2 separate regions of the Homo sapiens genome follow, and region 2 is linked to region 1. Evidence: promoter capture Hi-C in human tissues and cell types (Jung and others, 2019). All regions are on one chromosome and are shown on one strand. The core of a region is centred on a gene start or on the middle of the fragment in contact, and the rest is flanking DNA. Distances in the headings are between cores, read along the strand shown. Region 1 holds the start of MEGF10 (multiple EGF like domains 10). Region 2 overlaps MEGF10 (multiple EGF like domains 10).

Region 1 (5,713 bases), core at 1,665-4,164:
TGGCATAGGAATAGAAATATAGATCAAATGAAAGGAATAATGAGTGAATCCTGAAATAGACTCACTCATCTATGGCCAATTGATTTTCAATAAAGGTATCCAGTTACTCAATGGGAAAAAAGATAATCTTCTCAACAAATGGTGCCAAAACAACTGGATATCCATGTAGACAATAATGAACCTCAGCCCTTACTTCATACCATACACAAAGGTTAACATCAAATAGATTGTAGACCTAAATATAACAGCTAAAACTATAAACTTCTATAAGAAGCCATAGAAAATCTTCATGACCTTGGGGTAAGCAAAGATTACTTATGTAAAACCTAAAAGTACAACACACACACACAAAAACACGCTTGATAAACTGGACTTTATCAAAATTAAAAACTGCTGTTTGAAAGACACTATTAAGAAATTGAAAGACAAGAAACAGACTGGGAGTGTATATTGGTTATATACATATCTAACAAATGCCTGGTATATAAAGAACTCCTACAACTCAATAATAAGAATCCAAAGACTTGATTAAAAATTGGGCAATAAATTCAGACACTTTATCAAAGAACAGGTGGCATGAGAGCACATGAAAAGCTGGTAAACATCTTTTATGGTCACCATCATTAGTCAGTAAGGAAACGCAAATTAAAACCACGATGTGATACCACTATATACTTACTAGAATGGCAAAAATAAGAAGACAGAAACTACCCAGTGTTGATGAGGATGTGAAGCAATTATCATATCTTGCTGGTGAGAATGTAAAATGTTTTCCACTTTGGAAAGCAGTTCATCTTTCTATATAGTTAAACACACAGTTACTGTAATAATAATTTTACTCCTGTAAGATAAGAAAAATAATAATGTATGTCCACAAAAGGACTTGTTAAAGATTGTTCCTAGCAGCTTTATTCATAATAACCCCATATTGAAAACATCCCCAATGTCCATCATTTGGTAAACTGGCAAACAAATTGTGGTATATCCATACAATGGAATACTACTCAGCAATAAAAAGGAACAAACTTCAGATACAGGCACAACATTAATGAGTTTCAAAAACATTGTGTGGAGTGAAGGAAGTCAGACACAAAGGAATATGTAAGTGATTCCATTCATATGAAATGTTAGAAAAGACAAATCTAATCTGTAGTTACAGAAAACAGCTAAGCGGGCCAAATATGAGGTGGGATAGAAGTTGACTTTAAAGGGGTGCAAGACAACCCTCTGAGGTGATGGAATTGTTCATTATCTTGATTGAAGCAGTGGTTACATGGGTGTGTACATTATTCAAAACTCATGAAGCTGTATAATTAATATGAGTGTAATATATGGAATGTAACTTATCCCCCAATAAAGTTGATTAAAAAATTAAAAGGAAAGTGGGGCAACCAAGTTTCATAAAGCAAAATATCTTTGGGTAATAAGTGGCATGAACTAACAGCCAATTTCCTTAGAAAACAGCCATATGGATTAATCACCTCTAGAATTATTTGTGCCTGTGCTGCCCAGATCAAAGTTCCAACTCCTGGCAGAGAGGGCCTGAGGGGCTTAGCTGAGGTCAGTTGCTCTCTTCTGGACAGGGAAAAGCTGGACCATCCTGACTGACCTTCCACCCAGACTGCTGTCCTTGTGGCAGGGATGGTATCTCAAAGAAAAATGGAGGTACTGTTACCAGAGAAGGGGCAATGATGACTGCTAAACAAACAAATAAACAAACACCAAAACAGTCTTCCCCTGTGTATTTCCAGGGAGAGTAAAGAGGATGGTGAGGGGCTTCAAACATATCTATGTTCATTCATTCCATTCATTTATTCACTCAAACATAATATGGAGTCTGTACTATTTTCCAGGAGCGTTATTGAGTAGGGACTCGAACGCTCTTGAAGTCTCTCTAAAAAGAAAGAGTTCTTATTAATGGGAGGAAGAGAAGCCTGGTAGGAGATGGTTACCTGGAGTGGTTATGGGGCTTAAACCTGTTTTTGTTTTTTTGTGGGGAGAGGGGGATAGAATTCAACGACACAAGAAAGAACTTTGCAGCAGTCAAATTTGTATCTTTTGGGGTCCTGTAAAAGCTGGAAAACTCTTTAGTCTGGAAGAGGAAGATGGACAGTCAGAGAAGCAGATTCCAGAATTCATGTCCTGTCTAACCCACAAATGGAAAAGCCCGTTCATGGTTTTAACATTCCATCACTGGGCCTCCCGGGGCCTCCTCGGCGAGTCGGCAGAGGGAGCCATTCCCCAATAAATTGCCGCGCGAGGCCTCCGAGGACCTGGGGGGATTTTCCTGCGCGTCCGGGGAGTTCTCTCTCCGCCCCTCCATGGTAAAGCAGACTATCCCACCCTCCACCCTCTGCCTTCACCTCCCCGCCCCACCTTTCCATGTACTTTGCTGCCACATCACATTCTCTGGCACGGCTTAATCACCATCCTTTCTGGGTCCCACCTTTGCGCTTTCTCCCCTGACACCACTGAGGACCCGCCGTCCACTCCAGTTGGCCGCTCGGGCGCCGGCCACCGTCCCACAAATCCTTACAGAGGGTCTAGAACACCTCCCAGGGACTCTGCCGAGGGACTTGCACCCAACGTGGGTTGGGAATCAGGCGGGCACCCACTCTGACACCCCTTCGGTCACCCCCTGCGGTGACCCCAACATTTGCTAACTTCGCGACCAGGCCTTTGGCGGGGTCACCCACCAGGCGGTGGAAGCCGCTCAGGCAGGGGCGACTCACGATCGAGGTGCAGCAGTCAGGCCGGGAAGATCCTGCATGTTGCGCTAGGGACTGCGCGCGGCGCCAAGCGACAACCCCCCAGCGGCCACTGCCCCGGCAGCAGCAGCTGCAGCAGCGGCAACTGCTCGAATCCCGGCCCCGGCTCGGGTTACCCGCCCCCACCCCCTCCAGCATCTCGGGCCAGACAGAGAAAACCTTGTTCAAGTTTGCAGCAAGTACTTTCCCGGTGCGCAAAACTGGGCGACTGGGAACGCGTTGAGACGTTCCTCTTTCCCGCTTCTCCACCTTTACGCCTGAAAGAAGACTCCCAAAGATTGCTTTCTTCTGGGACGCTGCTTGGACGCTAACCGCGTTGATTGGAACAGATTTTGTGTCTTGGCTGGCTTTGGGTGAAGACCGGGGAGAAAAGGTTGCGCTGCGATTCTCAAGATCTCTGGACCTGGGTAAGAGTTGGGCAAACTCAACTCCGGCGGCTCCTGGACCTTGGCCGGACGCCGGAAGGCTTCTCATGGGCGGGGGTCACATTTTCCTTAGCCAGGGTACCGGGGTGCGGCGTGAGGTGGGGCGAGATGGGCTCAGTCTGCGTTGTTCATGCGCTTCTTAAGGGTTTATTGTTGTTTGCATTTGGTTTTGTTACATGGGATTGTGTAGGAAAATCCTGGAGTATTTTTGATGGAGAGACATCCTCATTACGCATTTTATTTTGCATAATTCCTGCCCTTGTATTGCCTTACCTTGTGTTTGTTTCATTTTGCCGGGCGATATAGCTGGATGTAGGGAGATTTGTGGGGAATCGGACTGAGCTTGAAAGGCAGTTTCAGCTGGGCCCTTTCTTCTAGGTCAGTTGAACTTCCTTTCTGGGATCTTCACTGTTTTCTAAACTTCTCTTTCTCCCGTCCTTGGTATTCAGATTGTGCAGATAACGCTCTAGGCTGGCGGGATGCTCCCCTTTCCTGAGTTCTCAGCGATCAGTAGGGGTGTGAGGTCGCAGTCTTAGACCAAAGGGGCCTTGTCAGTATGCTTGGCTCCTTAAGGAGTGCTGGGAGGGACGGTTTTTCAAGTGATAGTTACTTAAGAAAGATAAATCCGGTGTTGATCTTTTTCTTTTAAATTCCTTGTTAGAGGACTTTTACGCCTGGTTTAAGGAAGTGTTTTGGCCTTAATTTTCTTTCTGGAAGTATTTTTCTTAGTGACACCACTGAGCAAATGAATGATGGCAATATCTTTGCTGCTTCTTTAGAAAATATCCTCACGCAAGGACCCACATTATTTAGGAGAAAGTCAAAGTTGGAGATCTTATTAGCCAAAATTAGCCATTATTATTGTTCTTAGGCTGTGATAACCATGCTGTGCCAAGGCAGAAGAGAATGACATTTCTTCTTGTTCTTCTTGCCTTACTCCTTTATATCCTGGGTCTCACTTTGTGTATAGGGTTCCCAAATAAAAATGCTTCATTCCTTATGGACAGAAATACTGGGGCCAATTTATATTATCCAGAAATGTCATCTTCCTGACACGAGTGCTCCAAGAGGTCAGCTTGCAGGGAACTTTTAATTTTACCACTGAGAGTTCAAAGAGTTCAGTTGGTAAACTCTGGGCACCCGCCAGCCTGGGTTCAGCTCACAACTCTGCCACTTTTCAGTTCTGTGATTTTGGGGTAAGTTACTTAATCTGTTTATCCACATATGTAAAATCAAAATGATAATAATAGCACTTACATCAGACAATTGTTAAAGGGATTAAGTAAGTTAATGCATGTGAAGGACTAACAAGCCTGACACATAGTAGGCACAAATTAGCTTTATTATTATTGTATAGCTAGCATTAACTATTGTTGTATCCCTCTAGTATAGCTTCTATTAGCTGTCAGTAAGTGTTAGCTATTATTCCTATTTGGATGGACTTTGAAGACTGTGCTCATCTGTAAGCTTCACTACCACCTATTGTCAAACTTAGCTCAGACATGATCTTTGTATTGCTTTTTTGTTGTGGCACTTTCAGTTGGAAAAATAAAGGTGTATATGGCAGAGCTGGAATTTATAGGGTGGTGGGTCATGGATGGGCACCAAAGACTACTTGGAACAGGTGAGGAGGTGGGAAATCTACACTCAGTTCACAGCCTGTATACCTCCTTGGAAATCCTTTACATTAATATACTTTCTTTAACCTATTTTTTAGAGGTCACTCATTTGTTCAGTAAGTATTTATTAACCATCTATTACATGTCAAGCACTGTTTTAGGTTTTATATTTTAAAAATGGCTATGCATGAGTATTGGCTTTATGTGCCTCCTCCCATTTCAAGTGTGTGACCTAGCACTCTATAAATTAAATCCCAAGTATTTTTAGCTACACAATTTCCATACCTGTTAAAATGCTCATAAGAGCACATAAAAAGCACGTATCATTGAGAAATTGAACAAAATATTCCCTATGACCTCAAGCAGATTGCTTTTCTCCATTTAGGCATCAGTTTTATTATGTATAAACTTGTGTTGAGAGGTGGGGAAAGAGTAGAATAACCTCCAGTGTTCCTTCTGGCTCCAAAATCCTTAAATTAGCTGCCTTACTTCATTGGTGGCTGTTTTTGAACCCCCACTTTTCTCTTTTAACATTTGTTTTAGGTACATAAATTACGTTACTTCCATCTTTGCATATTCATCAAAGTGAGTAACAACATCGATAATTAATGAAAAGGGAAAAGCGTTTATCTCTGTCTGTCTTTCACTATTCTCAGACTTTGGTTTATACCAGAAGCATGAAGTGGGGAGATTTGTTAAAATATTAGAGTGAACTATGAGAAATTGCTGATATTTGACCATTTTTGACCTAAATAAATGGCAATTTTGTATGGTTCAAACTATACAAACCCTAATCCCTTCTGCCTTGATTTAGAAGTAGTAAGTCTTCTGTGAGTTGTGAGAAGTCTGCATTTTTACAAGTTCCCCAGGTGATTCTAATGCAAAACTCAAGTCACATGCT
Region 2 (5,713 bases), core at 846-3,345, 140 kb after region 1:
AAGTATCCCTGGACAGGGCAGAAGTATGTAGGATAGGAGGCTTGTGTGTAGTGAGGCTTTTATGAATAAATCAGTGAAATCTGACACAGAAGCCAGGGCTCTTCCCCTGATCAAATCAACAAGATGGCCTTAAGTGCTCCGTCAACTGTGGACACTGTGGGGAGAGGCTGATCAGTTGGATTTGGAGCCAGAGATAAGAGTCAGGAGGGCCTTGTTCCTCTTTACAAAGGAATTGACATGACTAAATTGAGGAAGTCTCACCCTAAGGTGAGATGCCAAGGAAGATGGCTTGCTGTCTTACTGTGTACCCACATCCACCATTTCTTATAACTTCAACCCACTATCTAGCATTTGACTGTTCTCTCAAAGGAACTGAGGCTTTTTTATTTCTATTATAATTGATAGTCCTATTTTACCTAGTCATAAAATAAGTCCTCAAAATATACTGTTATGAAAAGTAAACAAAATAAAAGTTGTGTTTGACATTTTAGATCCTATTTCCAAAAAAAGTACCATTTTATTGTAGTATGTGGTTATTTAAAACCTTAATTTATTGTCATTTTTAGCCAATACACTATTTTATCAAAAAGAGGCAGATTGCAGTAGAAGAATGAGGAAAATGAAATACCATTCAGGATTTAGGCTGTGTCCTATGCTGCTTCTCCTACACCTCTGGACCTCTGGTACACACACACACTCTCTCTCTCTCTCTGCTATAAAATGAGGCTCGCTTTTCAAAATGATTATACTGAAATTTCAGATGTCAATGAAATATAATTATGAGTGTTTGTGTATACTTATGTATGTGTGTTTCCAGAGTAGTGGAGTGATATACTTTATAAAAGCATTTTCCCAAAATTACAGAAACAGGCTGAAGTTTATGTCTTCTTTTCTGCTCTGACTTCAGTCAGCCAGAACACCCATTTGCTGAGCATTACAGCTAATCAAGATTTCATTCCAGCTGACTGGGAACATGTGCAGTGTCCGGCCTCATTCCCAGCCCTGGCTAAGATCACTGTCACCTGGGAACTCTTCGAACTTGCATATTCCCAGTCCCCACCTCACACCTACTAAATGAGAATTTGGAAAGTGGCTGAGGAGGAGGAAGATTATGGAGCCTCTGCCCATCCAGAAAGCAACTTTGATACAAATTTGGAAAAGATTTGGAAATCCCTCAGGATGTACTCCTTGGCACATGAAGTGCAAGCCGGATTTCTGCCCCAACTTAGCCCCTTGGGCAGGGGCTCTTGCATAGTGCACAACTTGCAAAACCTTACTTGGTGGCTTTGTCTGCCCTGGTGACCCAGGCAGGCAGTGGCAGTTACGGTCTGCATAGTGGCATCTGCTGTGTCATATTACTCTAGTTATTGAAGAACTTGGGGTCTGGGGTGCATTTCTTTGACAGAAACCACATAATCAATGGCAAATGAGAAGAGGTGGTTCAAGGATGTGTTTATACCAGAATAAAAAAGTTAAACACTAAACAGATAAAAAGGAGAATAGGACACCCAATGAAACTCTAGGGGTCTTGAGAAAGAGAGGAGAGACTATCAAGGCATGGTATAATTGTAAGGGGAGGGGTAGGAGAATAAGAGGAGAGGTTGGGGGCTCATCTGAGCCCAGCCAGGAAGGGTGTAATCGGAAGGAGGATCACCTGTGGGCAAGTTGATGTGAAGAGCCCACTTCTCCGCTCTTCCCAGCAAGCAGAACTAGGCCTAGAGTGGCCGCAGCCTCCCTCCACAAGGAAAGCTCTCCTTTCCATGTTTTACCAAACAGCAAGTTTGACCAGCTGAGTGAGTGAGCTGCTACTTCAGGGACTAATCTGTCGTGAGGTGATGTCTCATGCAGCTAAGGGATGCCTGAACTGTTAAAATAAGGGGAGACCTACCTTCCTTTGTCCAGTGACATATAAGTGCAAATCCAAGTTGGAGGTAATAACTTTAGTCAAATGAGTTTAATTAACATGCCTGCACCCAATCAGCCACAAGTACAAATGACTCACTATCTGACCCTTTTGGGTATTGAGGGCTGGAGAGTGTGTCTGCAGGTTCATATGTATATGTCTGTCTGTTTGGTCTTGGGAGAGGGGATCATATAAAAGCAGAAGGCTGGGCCCCTGCTGTGAGGGTGAAGGGAGGTGCTCATTTCCCCCAACAAGAAAAGGCCACAGAAAAAACCAAAGCTCCAAGATCTGCCTAGCAATCCTTTCTACTTGCTTTTATCTGGGTCCAGACTGAGGCAGGCCATGGTGTCTGGTATTTTTTTTTTTTTTTTTTTTTTTGTCTTGCAAGTGCAAAGGCAAACACCTCTGATTTATATGACTTATTAAGACTTTTTTCAACTTTGTTGAACTATATAAAGCAGATTCTTTTTTACTGGGTCTTTAAAATCCATAGTATCCAAATAGAAAGATTTGGTTTAACAACCATTTGTTGAGTGTCTCCAGGTTCTATGCAACCATAATGCTTGGGTGCTGGGAACACAGAGAGGAAGTGAAGCCAACTCCCATCCTGCAGAAGCTCACATTGCATCAGGACAGTCGCTCTATCAGCAGAGATGGATATACCAGTGAATAACTTCTCTATACTACACCACACTATGCTGTACTACACTACACTACGCTACACTACACTACACTACACTATGCCACTGCTTTGTTGGTCAAAGGATTAGAAAAGCAGAAAAAGTGTTGTGACTAAATACTATAGTTCCTCCATCTTATAATTACCAAGCCCAATTATTATTAACAAATATCTCTCTTTGCTCTAATATATGTTTAATAGCTTGTTGCCCAGGAACTAGACATAGAATCAAAATAATTTCCTTCATTCACTAACGCTCCAAATATTGGAATACTGGCATAAGGAATATAAGCAATTAAGTAAGACAAGGATTTGGGGTTATATCTATGAGAGGGGAAAGAATGACACCCCAGATGATTTATTTACTGCATTCATGCAATCACAAATGCCCAGTGAATGCTGATTTCACATTGAGGCCGCTGGCATAATGCATCAGGCATTAATTGCACGAACATTTCTTTAGAGCTGCTTAGCTGAAGTTTATCACGATCATTCAGCCATTGCCTAGCAACTTGTGGAGGCTATCAAAGAGCTCTTTGTTCTCAGTCGTGGCAAAAACAGTCCCTTACAGATCTCCTTATCAGCATTAGAACATTTATCAGAAAAGAAATGCTCCCATTGAACCAGAGATGGCTGCAGATTTAAACCTACCCCCTTCCCACGTTGCCCCTTCTTCCCAATATTTTAGAAGTTATTTCCTGAACTATTAAAGTTTCTATCTGTTTTTTGCTAAAACTTCTGAAGGAATTTCCTTAAGATGTCATATAATTCCTTTATGGCCTAATAATCTGGGCTTACATGTAAAAACACAGACCTGAGCCCCTAAATGTGTATCTGCTCAAGAATAAGCAAGGCAGACATCTCCACCTCCTTAGCAGGGAAGGGTCACCATTTTTGATATACAACCTATAAATATGTTGGGCTTCCTGGTTTGAGTGAAGACTTATTCAGGAAAGCAAAGAATGCTGTGGTTGCTCCATCCCATTGGAAAGTGGTCCTGAATATCATACAGGAAATAGGAATTATGTGTATCGATTCATTCAACAAATAAATTTATTTAACACCTCCCATGTGCTAGGTGCTATGGTGAGCAAAAACAGGCATTGTCTCTCCCTCAGGGAGCTGCCAGAATTAATTACCTTTGGTGGAGAATTGGAGGGGAGTCTTCATCTGCATTTTCTTCTATATCTCTCCAGAATTCCTCTTCCCCGCATCTCTGCTGACATTGACTTAGTTTCATGCCTTGTCACTTTGATCATTTTTTTTATTTGGGGAACCCCAAATGGGGGTTCTGCAGGTAAAAGAGCACCTGACAGGTTTTCTTTCTTCCCAGGCTCAACATCTTCTGGCCATCTTCTGCCCTCCTATAAAGCACAAATTTAGTTGTGCCCCTTCCTTCTTAAAATTGTTCATTTGGTCCCTGTTAACACCAGGGGGAGGTTCACACTCTATAGCATGGCGCTCTTGGCTCAACTCAACTTGGCCACTGCTTGGCTGCCCAGATGTCTCACCTGCTCTCCCCAGCCCCTGAGTTTTAGCTGTACCCAACACTTGCAATTCCCAAAGGACAGACACTTCTTTGGGCCTCTGAGCCTTGCCACCACTGTTCCCTTAGCCTGCAGTCCTCTTCCCCCTTCACAAGCTACCTCCCTTCCTGATCATGATCCCCAGGCAGAGCAGGGTGTGCCTGTTCTGTGGTCATTATCACCCTGGGGTTACATTTTTAAGAAAACTTCTCACAGCAAACCAGTAGCTGGCCAGATCCCTTGAATGTTTGCTGAGTTGGGTTTCCTTTTCTGCCTTTGACAAACAAAGAAACAAAAAGATGTTTTGTAGGACCCTAGCAAAGCTGGCAAAAAATAAGAGGAGATAAATATAAATAATACACATGTACCCACACAGAGCCAGAAATAATGGTTAAAGCAAAACTTACAACTCTTCATCCTGGAGAATATTTCATTGCAGGGTTATCCTTACATGGAAGTCACATCAGCAGTCATATACCTGGTGCGACTTAGAGAAACACTTACCCAACACTCTCTTAGTGATACTTACTGCCTGAAATTCCACAATTAGATATTTATTTCTTAGGCTCTTAGAATGCATGCTCTCTTAGAATATCAATATTCTCCAGAGAAGGTACTACTCAGCAATAATAAATGTATCTTGTCCTTTTCTGACTGTAAGATGAAGGGAAAAATAACTAGGAGGGCACAGAGGGCCAGAAGGGGAGAAGCAGCAATAGGAGAAGAGGGTACAGCAAGAGGAGGAAAGACAACTCCACACCTTTCCCTGGAATTGCCCCCTAACTGAGACATACTTGATATTTATCTTCACATAGATTAGGCATTAGTATCTGCAAAATGCTGACTCATTTTTTACTGATGACAGAGTAAATAAAAGGGCTTGAATTTTTAAGAGGGTGTTGGTAATAGAATTTTTATAATTTATATTCAAAGGAAACATTTCTTTGCAATTCTAAACTAAAAGTTATTTTCAAGTAAGCTTGGGTCTGTTGAAAGATGCTTATATGATTGGACACAGAAGGTTTGATCAATGATCTATAGAATTTGCTATGATTCTCTGGAAATGAAATGATGGGTAAACCATATGAAACAAGCTTATCTCTGCAGTGGATCTTCTTGCTATAGGGTGGGCCTTGTTACTTATACAAACATTACCAGGATATAGTTGATTATGACTGATGGCTAGGCTAATCAGCTGAACAAACCTCTTAAGGGAAGAAGAATAAGTTATGAAAGAGAGGATCTCTTTATTCAGATTTGCCTATCTGGCCTGTAGTCATTTTTCTTACCATGCTCTGATTGAGAATAGGCTAAGCTATACATAAATCATGATAACCTATGATATAAAAAAGCAGCAAATACTTTTGACCTAAAGTGTACTCCATTCCATCTTAACTGAATTTATTAAGTGCAATTTGAAGTAGTGATTTGGCAAGTAGTTGATAAACTAAGTCATCATAAATGGCTAAATCTTACCTGTCCCCCAAGTCCCCACCCTAACAAAAAAGCATAAAAAATCGGGACTGCTTTTTCAGGATGATGATCAGTCAGATTAACAGGATAATTACTCAGTTTCCACTTCTTCAAAATCTTCGTTGGGATTTG

Evidence for each region. The method cuts DNA at HindIII sites, captures the fragments that hold promoters and counts their contacts. A contact is called where the count stands out against the background at its distance.
Region 2: a contact is called between a fragment that was not itself captured here and the fragment with the promoter of MEGF10 in region 1, in 1 of the 25 tissues and cell types used here (dorsolateral prefrontal cortex).

Annotation. Positions count from the first base shown.
Region 1 is chr5:127,287,882-127,293,594 of GRCh38, forward strand. It overlaps MEGF10 (multiple EGF like domains 10), which reads left to right and starts at 2,915. Exons shown (of 25, transcript NM_001256545.2): 1 at 2,915-3,175. It overlaps LOC105379199, which reads right to left and starts at 2,855. Exons shown (of 4, transcript XR_007058921.1): 1 at 2,697-2,855. The HindIII fragment of the contact is 12,500 bases long and covers 1-5,713 here.
Region 2 is chr5:127,425,884-127,431,596 of GRCh38, forward strand. The region is part of intron 13 of MEGF10 (multiple EGF like domains 10); the gene reads left to right. Among named protein-coding and RNA genes, the nearest start is that of PRRC1, 89 kb to the right of the region's middle. The HindIII fragment of the contact is 6,098 bases long and covers 1-5,144 here.